Linked DNA regions of Homo sapiens: region 1 is linked to region 2. Evidence: promoter capture Hi-C in human tissues and cell types (Jung and others, 2019). All regions are on one chromosome and are shown on one strand. Each heading gives the region's core, a stretch centred on a gene start or on the middle of the fragment in contact. The rest is flanking DNA. Distances are from core to core; before and after follow the strand shown.

What was found. The method cuts DNA at HindIII sites, captures the fragments that hold promoters and counts their contacts. A contact is called where the count stands out against the background at its distance.
Region 1: a contact is called between a fragment that was not itself captured here and the fragment with the promoter of SIRPA in region 2, in 2 of the 25 tissues and cell types used here (dorsolateral prefrontal cortex and lymphoblastoid cells).

Annotation. Positions count from the first base shown.
Region 1 is chr20:2,139,139-2,145,654 of GRCh38, reverse strand. STK35 (serine/threonine kinase 35) reads right to left here. Exons shown (of 4, transcript NM_080836.4): 4 at 1-1,871. LOC124900458 (a long non-coding RNA gene) reads right to left here. Exons shown (of 2, transcript XR_007067499.1): 2 at 4,057-6,516. Among named protein-coding and RNA genes, the nearest start is that of STK35, 41 kb to the right of the region's middle. The HindIII fragment of the contact is 3,073 bases long and covers 1,944-5,016 here.
Region 2 is chr20:1,893,278-1,899,681 of GRCh38, reverse strand. It overlaps SIRPA (signal regulatory protein alpha), which reads right to left and starts at 4,275. Exons shown (of 8, transcript NM_001040023.2): 1 at 4,156-4,275. The coding sequence starts at 4,234. LOC102724545 (a long non-coding RNA gene) reads left to right here and starts at 5,432. Exons shown (of 4, transcript NR_186374.1): 1 at 5,432-5,563. RefSeq lists an enhancer at 3,115-3,630 and silencers at 4,922-5,041, 5,052-5,311. The HindIII fragment of the contact is 18,060 bases long and covers 1-6,404 here.

The sequences.
Region 1 (6,516 bases), core at 2,231-4,730, 250 kb before region 2:
CAGGCAGTCACAATGGGTTTTGGCTTAGGAAGGGAAGGGCCTGGTTATCACTGTGGGATCCTGCTAACAGCAGCCAACCTTCTGCTCACAAGGAAGAAAGTTTGGTGTTGAGGGGGGTGACAGAAGGCTGAAAGAATGTGAGCAAACATATTGCTGAGCCTGGCCTGATGCACTGTTCTCTCCCAAATTCTCAGGGCCAAAGGATTGCCGCTTAGCAGGTAAAAGCCCCTGCTGCCTTGGTCACATAGAAACGGAAATGCCCGCCAACCGTCTCCCCTATCAATCCTATGCTGGTTTAGGTGAAACAGAAAACAAAAATGAACACAAAATGATTCCCTTCCCCCTCCCCAGTGGCCCTATACTATTTGGCCATAATGGGGTGAAAAGCCTTCGGAGTGGCCAGGCGCGTCCAGACAGAGGGACAACACAAGAGCATTGCCCCTTCTTGCAGGGGGAGAACAGATGGGCTCAGAGCAGCAGCCCAGGGGGAGGGAAGCTTCCCCTAGGGAGGTGCGAGAGTGTCGCTGGAGAGTGCAAGGATGGCTGCAGCAGACAGGCATGGGTGGCGGGGCTGAAGTGTCATGGCTGGGGAAGCCTGAAGGTGGCGAGCCCACAAATGGGCCCCTAACGCTGCAGGGGGTCTACCCAGTTCCACGACACCTCCCTGCTCTGGGCAGGTCCGCTGTTTTCCCATTGGATACGTCTATACTGAGGGCAGGCACCTAACAGTAAGTCTCCAGGGGTGAGGGAAATGGCGCTTGACAGTGTGTGTCACTGCATATGACACCATGGACCCCGGCACACAGGGCACGCCCTTCACTGTGAGAACACGACAACGGCAGCCAGTTCAGGACACCCTGTTATCATGGCAAAGTCACAACCAGATCTTAGGGCCTCAGGCCGTCTCTGTGACACCTGGACACTATGGGACACATCTGGGAAGATGACAATCCAGGAGGCAGTTAGGTGAGAAGCGCTGACCTCACGGCAGTGACAGATGCCTGCTGAAGACCCAGCTGTGTTCCACACAAGAGTTTGGCACAACAGTTTTTCCCAACAGAAAGGCAGGGATGGCTGCTCCACCGCCAGCAAGAGCGAGATGGTCGCCCTCCACCCTTACCTCCTAGTTCCCTGCAACACAGGGCAGAAGAGGAATGGATTCCCACCACTGCAAGTCCTGGTGTGGCCTGGGGCTCTCAATAGCTTAAACACAACAAAGCCTGGAGTTGAGACCTTCTTAGTTCTCCTGGCCAAACCCTGGCCTTCCTCTTCCAGGCGGTTCTTCACCTCTGATCATCTCCGAGGCCCAAGGGCTAGCCAGGGCCAGCCCACCAAGGAGTCCAGGAGTTCCTGCATCTGGTAGGGAGGCGTGGCCCAGAGGCCTCCTTGTGTCCTCACGCCCCGTTCCAGAAGAAACCCCCAGATTCCCTATGGGGAGGCAGGCCTTCTCTAGGGAAGTGAGGTGTCATAAGTAGAACTGAGAAAAGTATAAAGAAGGAAGACAGAGGGAAAGTGAAGGACAAAACCAAAAATAGCTCCCTAACCCCTTATAAAAAGTAAAAGTGAAATTTACACATATGCCTTGCCCACATTGAATTTCTTTAAAGAAATTGGTGCCTGTCCACAGCATTGTGTCCTGCTCTTCTGAAGTCTCAATGGTTTAAATTTAAAAAAAGGAAAGAGGAAAAAAAAAAAAGAAAAGAAAAGGAAAAAAATAAAGCAAAACTAAAAAGAAGCGGGGAAACCCAAACAAAAGCTTCACATTGCCGGATCCAGCTGTCGGGAGATCGCCAACCGGCCAGGCCACCACCTGTACCCTCTGCCGTCCTCTGGAGGAGACGTGGTGAGACTGTGGGTCCCGAGGAATCGACCTGGAAGACAGAAGGCGGGTAAGGAGGGGACATTGGTCAGCAGGCCTGGGCACCAGCCCTCAACCCAGAGGAACACTGAAGCTGTGTGTGCTGGGGGCTGTGGGGCAGAGCTCTAAAGAGATGGGGTAAATCTAGCTTCACAACCTCCCTGGTCTTATTCACACATGCTTATTTTTCAGATAGGGAAACTGAGGCTCAGGTTAAGTAACTTACCCAAGGGCACACTGACTAAGGGGCAGACACTAGCTGGGAACCCAAGCTTGCTGGCTCTAGCTGTCAAACCAATCTTGAACCCTGGCTTCCCCGTACTATTAGGAGCAAGACACCGCAGGGCCCACCCTGGATAGTCTGTCCCCACAGACCTTGCCAGCACTGCTTCCACTCATGCTTTCTTCCCCACTCTCTGTGATTAATTGTGCTGTTTGTTAGAAACGCCACAGCAACCCTCTCTAGGTTCAGTAATCCTGTTTTACAGAAGAGAAGAGTGAAGCTCAGGCCTCTGAGAATCCGAACCAGGCTACCTGCTCAGGTCTTAACATGGGCCAGAATCCCACACCCAGGGGCAGGGCTGGACTGGGCCTGCACTGTCTGCTGCAGTGCACTGTGGGGGTTAAGAACGAGGGCTCTGGAGCCAGAACGGGCAACTGAGTAAACAGGAGCTGCCCCTCGACTGTGGGGGAATTTAAGTCCTCTGTTCCCTGGTCTCATCACCTGTACCTGCGTCACAGGCTATTATGAAGATTAAATGAACGTAAAACCAAGAAGAGTGCCTGATCCTATTAGTGTTGGCTATTATTTGGAAACTGCCTTAGTGCCAGGCCTCAGGAATAAGACAAGAAGCCTGCCCTTCAGTGGCTTATTCTACTGGAGGCCTAGAATACAAGGGCCCACAGAGATTAGTCTTGGGCAGCGCCCACTCTGAGCTATCGGATCAGTGCTAAGTATAGCGCTGTCCTGGGCAGGGCGGGCCATCTAGGGCAACAGTGCTCCAGCCTCGTTGCACATGGAATCATCTAGGAGGTTTTTTGAGACAGGGTCTTGCTCTGTCACCCAGGCTGGAGTACAGTGCCTTGATCACAGCTCACTGCAACCTTGAACTCCTGTGCTCTAGTGATCCTCCCACCTCAGCCTCCTGAGTAGCTGTGACTACAGGGCACATGCCACCACGCCAGGCTAATTTTTATATTTTTAGTAGAGACGACGTTTTGTCATGTTGTCCAGGCTGGTCTTGAACTCCTGGGCTCAAGTGATCCACCTACCTTGGCCCATCTAGGAGTTTTTAAAGTGCCCGAATGACCAAAGCAGACAAGTCTTTCACTGTGCGTGCCTTTCTTTGTCAGGCAGAGCCAGCACCGTGGCTGCCATGACTTGCCACCTGTGCGGGCTGACAACACCAGCTCGTTGTCCTCAGCTCCTGGGAAGGGACCTGGCCAGTCCTCCCAAGAGGCAGCAGGATAGGACAATATTGGATAATTTACTGTCTGTTGGCCTCAGTTTCTCCCTCTGAGCACTGGGGACTCTTGGTTGAGGTCTGGGTGGAATGACTCAGGTTCCTGGCCCACAGCAGGGACAAACATACTCAATGACTCTACCCCTTCCTGGCCAACTGTCCCCAACCAGAGACTATAAACGTGTTAAATCTGAACAGGCCATGGTTCTCAGCCACGCAACCACTGAAAGTGTTTCTGGCTGGTGAGGGTGCCCCGCACACTGCTGGAGGAGGGGATAAGGCTTCTGGAAGGTAGTCTGGCACTGTTTTTAGGGCTTCAAAGGTGTTTAGATTGGTAGCTCCCTGAAATTCTACTCCTGAAAGCCAAGCTTAACAGATAAACCTAAATATGAAAAGAACTTTATGGATAAAGAAGTTCACTGAAATATAACAACTCACAAGTCCAAAAATAAGGATTAAGTAAGCAAATGATCCTTCAACGCACTGATATACTACAGAGGAAATGAGATCATTGCATGACATTTTGAAGATTATGACAAAAGCACTTCCCTGGGGTAGGTGGAAAAGGGTAGGTTACAAAGTTGTGTAGCGCACAGCATGACCATAACTATGTAAAAACACAAACCCCTCAGTGTAGGAAAATCTGACAATAAATACACCAACATGTTGTGCTTGTTGTGACTGGATTTTCCTCTTCCCTCACTTCTGATTTTTAATAATGAACACACACCAATGTTATATTTTAGTTTTTAATAGGAAAAATAGGGTACTTTAATGAACAAGAAAAGCTGGCAGCTCCAATAGAAAGGTCCAGATGTGGGGTCTTGTCTGGACTCTTCCATGCCCAGTGGACAAAGGAGAGCTTCCACACTGCCAAACGGGAGGTTAGACTATGTGACTCCCTGCTCTACTGCCCAGGGAGCGGGTGACCAAGAAAGTGGGTGTGGCTGATCTGGAAAGAAAATACAGGATTTCTCGGGCCCAGTCTTTCACTCTGCTGCTTCTGTTCCTTGGTCTGTTAATTCCCCTCAAAAAAATCCACTTGTGGGTCTTGTATCCCAGTTTTTGACTTGGAAAAAGAAAATCATCATAAACATATTCCCTGATGATTCAGCAGCCATCTCAAACTCTAGCTCTATTTAGCATGCCTATTGCTTTCTCTCCGTGCTTTCCGTAGACACAGCAGATCAACCTGAAGATGGGGGAAGAGGGTATTTAGGGTAGGCCCTCACCATCTGAGACATTAAGACCTTGTGAAATACGATGAGAAATTATACAGCCACATGTGATGTGCTAAAATAATCTTTGGGACCAGTTATGACTTTCCAGCATTCCTTTCCTCCCTCCCTGCGGACAATCTCCTGAAAAGGATGCCCATCAGCAGGAAGGTAGCATGTGGCAGCTGAAAAGCAGTGTTGGCAAGGAGGCAGGTTCAGAAACCAGAGGTTCCTTTTTACATAATAAACTAGCAGAACACAGTGTGACTACAGAAGGTCAGACCAACAGCACAGCACTCTGCAAGAACTCCTGAGACACCAGCTTGTAATGACCGCTGTAATCACTGGGTCCCATGCCAGGAAGTGAAGCTGACATTTCCCAAAGGCTCCTCCCTGCTCCCTCTAGCTCTGGCACTGGCTCTGGCCCTCCTGTTGGAAGCCTCAGAACAGCCTACAGGTCTGAGTCTGGTTCTCTCTTGTGGGCACAAAGAAGGAAAATAAGAGGGCTCTCTACTGGGGAGAGGATCTTGGCTTGGGGTTCTTTTCCCATCTGCCATCACAGAAAGAGCATTTTTCCCAGGGAGCTAACAGCACAGTAAGCTCACCGAAGGTAGTGGAGGCGCTTTCTGTAGCTATGAACAGGAATGGCTCAGACCACATGGTTCTGAGTTTAAGCACAGACCCTCCCAGGTACTTGTGGGCACAATAAAGGGTGTAGGTCTCAGCCCCAGTGGGCCCTTGGGGAGGCCTTAGGCTTGTGGTGCTTCATCCTAGCAGATGCCACATCTCAGCTCCCTGACTGCTCAGGCTGTGCCTGACTGCCTGGCTACCAGCTTCTACCGGGGCTCTTCTCATTCCTCTCTGTGGAACCCCTACCTCTGACCAGAGCCCGCTCCTTGAGGGCAAAAATCACACCTGCTAAGCATAATGAAAAGTGGTGATGTGATAAACCTGCAACTGACATCTGTAGTGCCCTTCCATGATTACTGTGAGGAGGGATTTGGCCAGTTTTCACAAGAAAACAGGCCCAGAGAAATGGAGCAACTTGCCCCACACCAGAGTTGCTGAGCAGTAGAACCAGCACTTAATCCAAAGTTTTCCAGCTTTACTACCCAAAGTCTCTGCACTATGATAGTCTTCAATCAGTGCTTCCAAAGCCGGCTCAGCAATGGTTCCAGTAGCTTGCACCTGAGATGACCTTGGGGGTGGAAGGTGTCAGTGATCTGGGAAAATGTGCTATGAATCCTTACCTTTCTCATTTCAGCTCTTGGACCAAGTTCTCTCAGTGCACCCCACCTTCTTATTTCTCTGTAACTGGCGTAACAGCAATCACTTATTGAGCAGTCTGTCTGTGCAAGTTCTAACTGTGTTATAGGCAACAACCTCGTAAAGCAACACTGCTTTCCAATCACTGTTAAAGGATCGAGTGTTTTACATCCATTGCCTCATTTCACCCCAGCAACCCTAAGAGGTAGGGGTTATCGTCCCCCTCGTCTTAGAGATGAGAAAACTGAAGCTCAGAGAGAACAGCCTCATAGACAGTAAGTGGTAGAGAAAAGGGTTTAACTCAGGGCAGTCTCACTCCAAATCCCCTGCTTTTGACATGTAACGATGCAAAATCCCTTCCTAGAGAAGACAAGAAGAGTCTTAAGTGGAGTTTAAAACCCATCTAATCCCTTCATTTATAAATAGACTCACTCAGAAAAAAGGCTCATGGAAGGCTTACGTGCCTGTGCACAGGTCTAGTGCTCGGGGGACAAAAGGGGACATGGTGCCAACCAGGCAGTGAACGGTCTTCCAGCAAGCTTCTCTGCCAGTCAGGCAGGTGTCTGGTCTGTTTAAGAAGACTGAGAAACTGAACTACTTTCATGAAGGCCATTAGCAGCTTGGAGAACAGAAGCCTGGGAGATATGAGGGGAACATGCACAGCAGGATGGGGCTGGAGACAAGGATGGCTCACGTGTTCACCTCCTTCCCC
Region 2 (6,404 bases), core at 3,026-5,525:
TGACCTCTCCCCAGGAGGCACATTAAATTGAACCTCGGAGGATGAGTAGGATTCAGACACAGGAAGACAAGGAGGTACAGGGAGGGCATTTCTGATGGCAGGAACAGCACGGGCCAAGGCACAGAGCTGAGAGTTCAGCTGAGGGCATGGATCTGTAGAAAACCGTTTACCAAACGGAGAGAGGCCACATGCTAACGGGCATACTACAAATCAAATGCCTCTCGTTCATAAGTTCAGGGAACACTGGAGTAAATGTGACCCAGCTCGGGATTCTACATTGCAGGGCTTCTCAGGGTCTTTGGGGTGCTCGTGTGGCTGAGTAGCCAGCAAAGCTCTGGTCTGCAGGGAGGAAGCCTGGTTATCCTGCAGCATCTCAACAGGTCAGCTTGTTGGAAAACATGTGGCTGGAAATCAGGCCTGGCAGGGAGGAAGCCCAGGCCTCACGGCAGCTTTGTGTTTTTTTGTTTTTTTTTTTTAAAGAAAACTTGGACCCACTCAACAGTTTTGAGCTGGGGAGTGACATGATCTGAGTTGTGTTGACAGGCCAGAAATCTGAGCACATTTAAAAAGAGAGAGAGAGGGGGGAAACCTTCCGTCAGTCCAAGACTACAAATAAGAAAATAACCTGTCGCACGGAGCCATTGGAAGCAGCAAGCGAGCGCGTGTGGGATCCGTACAACACTTTTAGACTCCCTTCCTCTCGCACACCCCCTCTCCATCTGTCGCAAAGGGCACCAGGAAGATGCAGGGAGGAATATTCCAGCTCTGGGGGCTCCAGAGCTCAGCAGCCCAGATGGGGGGCTCTCACAGGAGCCACATCACCTCTCATGTGTTGTTACTGGTGAGGACCAAGGGGCTGTCAGTATTTCCACCCTCAGCAGGCTTTCAGAGAAATGCCTGTGACTTCATCAAAACCTTCTGCCCAGAGAAAGAACTCTTCTACAGTCCTCCACCCAAGGCCAGAAAGGGGCCTCTCTCACTCCCTCTCCAGCTTGGACTAAATCATCCTGATTAAGTCATTGAGCTTCTTCCCTAGAAGCCACCCAGCAGGAAGGCCAGCATCCAAAATCCTGGCTCCTCTCTATCACTTATAAGTTAGTTCCCCAGTTTGGGACTCGATTTTCTGCATCTGCAGAATGGGGAGAAGAGCCAATCCATGTCTTGCGGGTGAGACGACGCAGGAGCAGCATCCGGCCTGGAACGCCATTAACTATCTAATGAATGTTGGTTTTCCTCCCTTCTCTCAACACATGGTTCACACCAGCACTGCATAGGTGCTGCATGACTGCAAGTACAGACGTGAATTACCGTGAGTTTCCGAGGGGTTGGTAAAGGCCAGAAAGTACTCAGAGAAAACTATGGCTTTAAAGGAACTTCCAACAGCCTGATGTGTTGAGCCAAAGCACTCCCGCCCCGTTTTCTCTTCTTACGAAAGAGGAAGTGAGATTAACTTTACCATTTAGGAAAGTACAGAGGAGCCCCCAGAGTGCCACCCTCTACCAAACGGTGAGAGGTTCACTGGGGGGCCCCGCTGCTCCCCAGAGCCTGAACTGCAACTTGGCTTGGCCTCCTCCAGGCCAGAGAGAAGAAATGAATGGGAGTTTATCTGAGGTCGGCCTGGGGGGTGACTCAGAGGTCTCAAGGCCTACCTGGGGCCAAGCAGGCATCCTGCGGGTTCAGCGTCAGGCCCTGCTGACACAAAATCAGGTGCCAGGTGTCCCCAGGCCTCAGTCCCTTGCCCTTCTCCCAGCCTCAGAATCTCCCTCAGTGCAGTTGTTTTAGGAAACAGGCCTCACATTGGGTCCAAAAACATAGGTTGGTGACTTCACTGGGATCTTTTTAGAATTTCCCTTTGGCAGCATTTGTGCTAAAAGCAATCTTTAGAAACTTCTTCTCTTGCCTCCCCCACCCAGGATAATTCACATGATTGGCCCCACCCCCCCAAAACAGTGATCATGTGAAGACACAGGAATCATGTGACACCTCCCAGGCTGACAGTTCTGCCTGAGACACTAGTAGTCATTCAATCCAAAGCCGCCTTCCTAAACCTGACATTTTAGTTTCTCACTCGAACAAATCCATTTTCTTAGAAAATTGGACAACTGCCTCCTTGTACCTTCCTACCCTCATATCCTGTCTCTCTACTTCTTTGTTGTAAATTCCATGTCTGGAGCAATAGGGGGAGGGGCCTGAGGCCCCATCCTTCAGCCAAACCAGGTGACTTCCCTGCCCAGGCCCATGGTGTGACCAGGACCCCGAAGAACAGATACTGAAGGATAATGGGAGACTTGAGCTATGATGGTCGCACCTCATCCCTTCCCCACCACCCTCGACCAAGAAATTCATTCTTACCTCCTAAGATTTATTTATTTCAAAGCTAATCTTGGCCCCTCTGCTGCTCCCACTTTTTCAGGCTATTGATGCTGAATGGATTGGAACGGAAGTTTTATGGCCCAATCTTTACCATCTTATAGACTGTTTTTATAGGCAAAAGGGGGAGATGTGCTCACAAGAAAGGTGTTGGTGTTCCCAGCCGGTGCCCCAGGAAAGGCAGGCTGCCCATCGGAGCACTTGCTAATCAGCGTCACTGCTCGTTTGCCAGGGACTGAACCACAGCCTCCTGGTCGGAGAAGGGTCTGGAATAGACATTTAGAAATTAACTCGGGCCCAATTCCCTGCTTCAGGAAAATTAAGCACTTGTGAGTGACACTTGTGCATTTCCAGGCCAGGAAGGATGGCAGGGCAGGAACTCGGACTTTTGCAGGGTACAAATGGCCAGCTCAGGCAGGAAGGAGCAGATAGGAGATGCCACTCACTGGAGAGACGTGAACTGTATCAGTGCTCCCTTCAGCCCAGCAAGGACGCAACTATAACTGAAAAGAACTGGGGGTGGAGGGTGGGGTGGGGTGGGGGGATGCCTATGTGAATTCCTGGGTTTCAGGGGAAACTGCAGGGCAGAGAGAAGCAGCTGTCTACCCCCCATACTTCTCCTTCCACCCACTCTTTGCTAGTTCTCCCTTTCTCCCTGCTATCAGATGGTTACCATCTCTAGTCAAACGCAAAAGGGGGTGTTGGACACTGAGCTCATCTTTACCTCCCTCCTCAAGGGTGGGAGGTACAGAGAGACCCCACTGCCTACAACACAGTTTCAAGACGACAAAAAACAAGATCCCCATTTTTCTCTCCCTCCCAACTCCCTTAATGCCATTTCTCTGCTCCCCCCGCCCCCCACCCGGTGCCCTCCCAGGAGACCCATGGTTTTGCAAAACCCATTTAAGAAGCAAGACTCCTGAATGGTGACCTCACCCTTTGGTGAACATGCACAGTAGCCTTCAGAGCCCGCCTGCCGGCGACAGCCAGGTGTTTGATGTAGGCCAACAGAAAGACATGGTCAGAGCCACAGGTAACATCCCCGCGGAGCACCTGAACTGCAGGGAGCTGCCTGGAAGCTCGGGGAAGGCAGGAGGAAGGGGGAGCTGGGAGCGCCTCAAGGAGCAAGACCACCAGGGAGAGGCTTTGGCAACCACAGGGACAATCCACCGTGTTTTTACATAAGGATCTGTTGCTCGCAGCAGCTCGCTCTGGGGTTACCGCGGCCTCCCGGCTCCCTCTCTCCCAGGCACACACTAACACCGGTTTACTCTGCGCACCAGAGGGAGGGCTCACTCTTCCCTAATTGCAACAGCTTGTCTCTGTTCCATTCCAGGCAGCATCGGGAGGACCTCTGCCCTCACCTCCTCCCCTCACACCCTGAAGTCAAACATGTGGAAAGTCGTATGTCCATGGGGACAGATTCTGGGGAAGCCGGACGGCCCTGCTCTGAAAGCCACTGTCAGTCAGCCTTCCCCATTGGACCGGGCAGGGGCTGAGTGAAGCAACTCGGCTCTTTTGTCTCAGTGCCCAGCACAGTGCACAGAGTCAGAGTCCACAGAGACAAACTCTCATAGAAGAGACTTGGGTTCTACCCTTGGCTGTGTGACCTTGGGCATGTCGCTGGCCCTCTCTGGGCCTCAGTTTCTGCATCTATAACCCTGGTTACAGGCGTCTCTCCCCCTATTACTGCTCGGCATTAGCCGAAGGGGTCCCAGTGCCAGTCTGAGAGGCCTGAGCCCGCAGTTTGGGGAGTGCAGCGGTGGGGAGCGGGGGGGTGCTTACCTGACCAGGCGCAGGACGCGGCGAGCAGCAGGCAGAGCAGCGGCCCGAGGCGGCCGGGGGCCGGGCCGGCGGGCTCCATGGGCCGCGGCTGCGGAGCGAGGAGGGAGAGCGGCCGTGAGTGCGCGCTCGGGCGGGAGCAGGCTGGAGCGGGGAAATGACTAAGGCTCCCCCCCTTCCCCCCTCCCGGCTGGGCCTCCCCCCGACTCCGGAACGGGCGCCTGGAGCGGCCGCCGCCGCCGCCGCGGTTTTTGGAGACCCCCCCTCCCCGCCCCCCAGGAGAAATGGAGAGACGGAGACTGGGAGAGACCCCAAGCGCGCGAGAAATAAAGCCAGGGGCGGCCAGAGAGAGGCGGCAGGAGAGAGAAACAGACCCAAGGGAGCCAGGCAGAGAGCCAGAGACACGGAGAGGCGAGAGGGGGAGAAAGAGGGGGAGAGCGAGGAGCGAGGAGCGAGGCGGCGCGCAGACCGACAGACCGCGCGGGAGAGAGGACCGCGCGAGCAGGGGCGAGGGGCAGCACGGCCGAGCCCGGCCGCGCGGAGCCGCCCCCGCCGCTGCCCACCTGCCCCGCCCGGGCTCCACACGGCGCGGGCGGCTGGGCTCGCTCCCGGCCCGCAGTCCCGGCCGCTGCCCCCGCCCTCCCGGCAGCCCGACCCCCTCCCTCCTTCCCTTTCCCCTCCTCCCGTCTTCCCGCCGCCCGGGGAGGCTTCGGGGCTCCGGCCCCGCCGGCACCTTCTCTGCGAGCGAGCGCCCGCCTGCGCGCCCCGGGGGAGGGAGCGAGGGCTGCGAGCTGCGCGCCCGGCCGGGGAGGGCAGCGTCCTCCCCCGCGCCGGCGCCCGGGCCCCGGCTGCTGTCCCGGGAAGGCGGCCCCGCGAGCCGCCGCGGCCCGCTGGGGCTCGGGACTAGACGAGCCTCCGGCTCCGACAGCGTGCCCGTTCAGAAGCCCGCGCGGCTGGTCCCCAGCCCCGACCGGTCCCGCTCTGCCCCTCCCCGTCCCTGCCGGGCCCGGACCTGCGCCGCCCGCGAGGGCTGGAAGGCACTGGAAGCGCCGCCGGGGCTGCCCAGAGGCCGGGTCCCCGCTCCACTTTGCGCAAACTTGTTTTTCTAAGGTCAGCGCTGCGAGCTGGCTACATCGTCCTCTTAAGGTGGACCGGGGAAGTTGCGGCCGACCTCCCCTCGCCTCCGGACTCCGGCCGCGCGGCTGCTCCCCGCTTCCCACTGGCGAGAGGCTGGAGGCGGCGAAGGAGTCGGGGCGCGGGGGCGCGGGGGGCGGGGGGGCGTCTGCCTTTTAACCCTCCCCAGGAGGTCGTGCCTCTGAGCCCCAAAGCTGAAGGCCCCTCTTGGGGGTGGGTGCGGGCCGGAGGGGCCCGATCCTTTCAGAGCCGGGCCGAGGTGAAGGAAAAGAAGGAAGTAAGTGAACGCAGGGGGAAGGGGAGAGGAAGAAGAGATGATGGTACAAAAATAGCGTGTGTGTAGGAAGGACTTCGGTGCCGCCTGGAAAAGAGGCGCGGGGAGGAGAGGGAGCGAGAAGGGGGCTGTGGCGCGCAACCAGAGGGGAAGGGTCGGGGCCTTCCCAGGGAGGTGGAGGCCCCCTGGCCAGGTGTCTCGGTGGTGGAGGGCGGACTGGGCGGGTGGGAGGCCCAGGCCGGGGCGTGTGTGGGAGAGCGGGGCCCTGAAGGCCTGGGTTCCGGGAGAAGGACAAGCCCTGAGGAAGATGAGGGGAAGGGGAGCCGGGGCCAGAGGCCTGGAGTTGGAGAGGACAGAACCCCGGTTTTCCCGGAGGGAACGCCGTTCCTGTAGTAGCCAGGTCAGTGATGGGGAGTGCCAGTGTCGTGGTCACCTGGCAGAAGGCTCCGCACTGTGGGAGGAACACAAGTTCAAGACCCCGCTGCTAATGGGAGAGAATTTTGGTTCACACAGTGGCGGTTAAGAGGACAGGAATGACACAAGGTGAGAGAAGGCCCAACCCTGTAAATGGACAGAAAGTTGAGGCCCGGAGAGGGAATAGGTTTGCTTAAGGCCACACAGCAAAGCTTGGGGTAGAAACAAGATTTGAATTCCTGATTCCCAGGTTAAAGACCTGTGCAAAGTAACACCACTGCCTCCCCTCCTGCCCCGAGCCTCCTGGTGAAGGCATGGCCCTGCTGTTGTGCAGGGGGGCAGGGAAGGTGCCACACTTGAGAACATGGGCTGAACTCCGTGGGTTCAAATCCCCCGGCTACTGTTATGAGCTGGGTGGACTGGAAAGTGC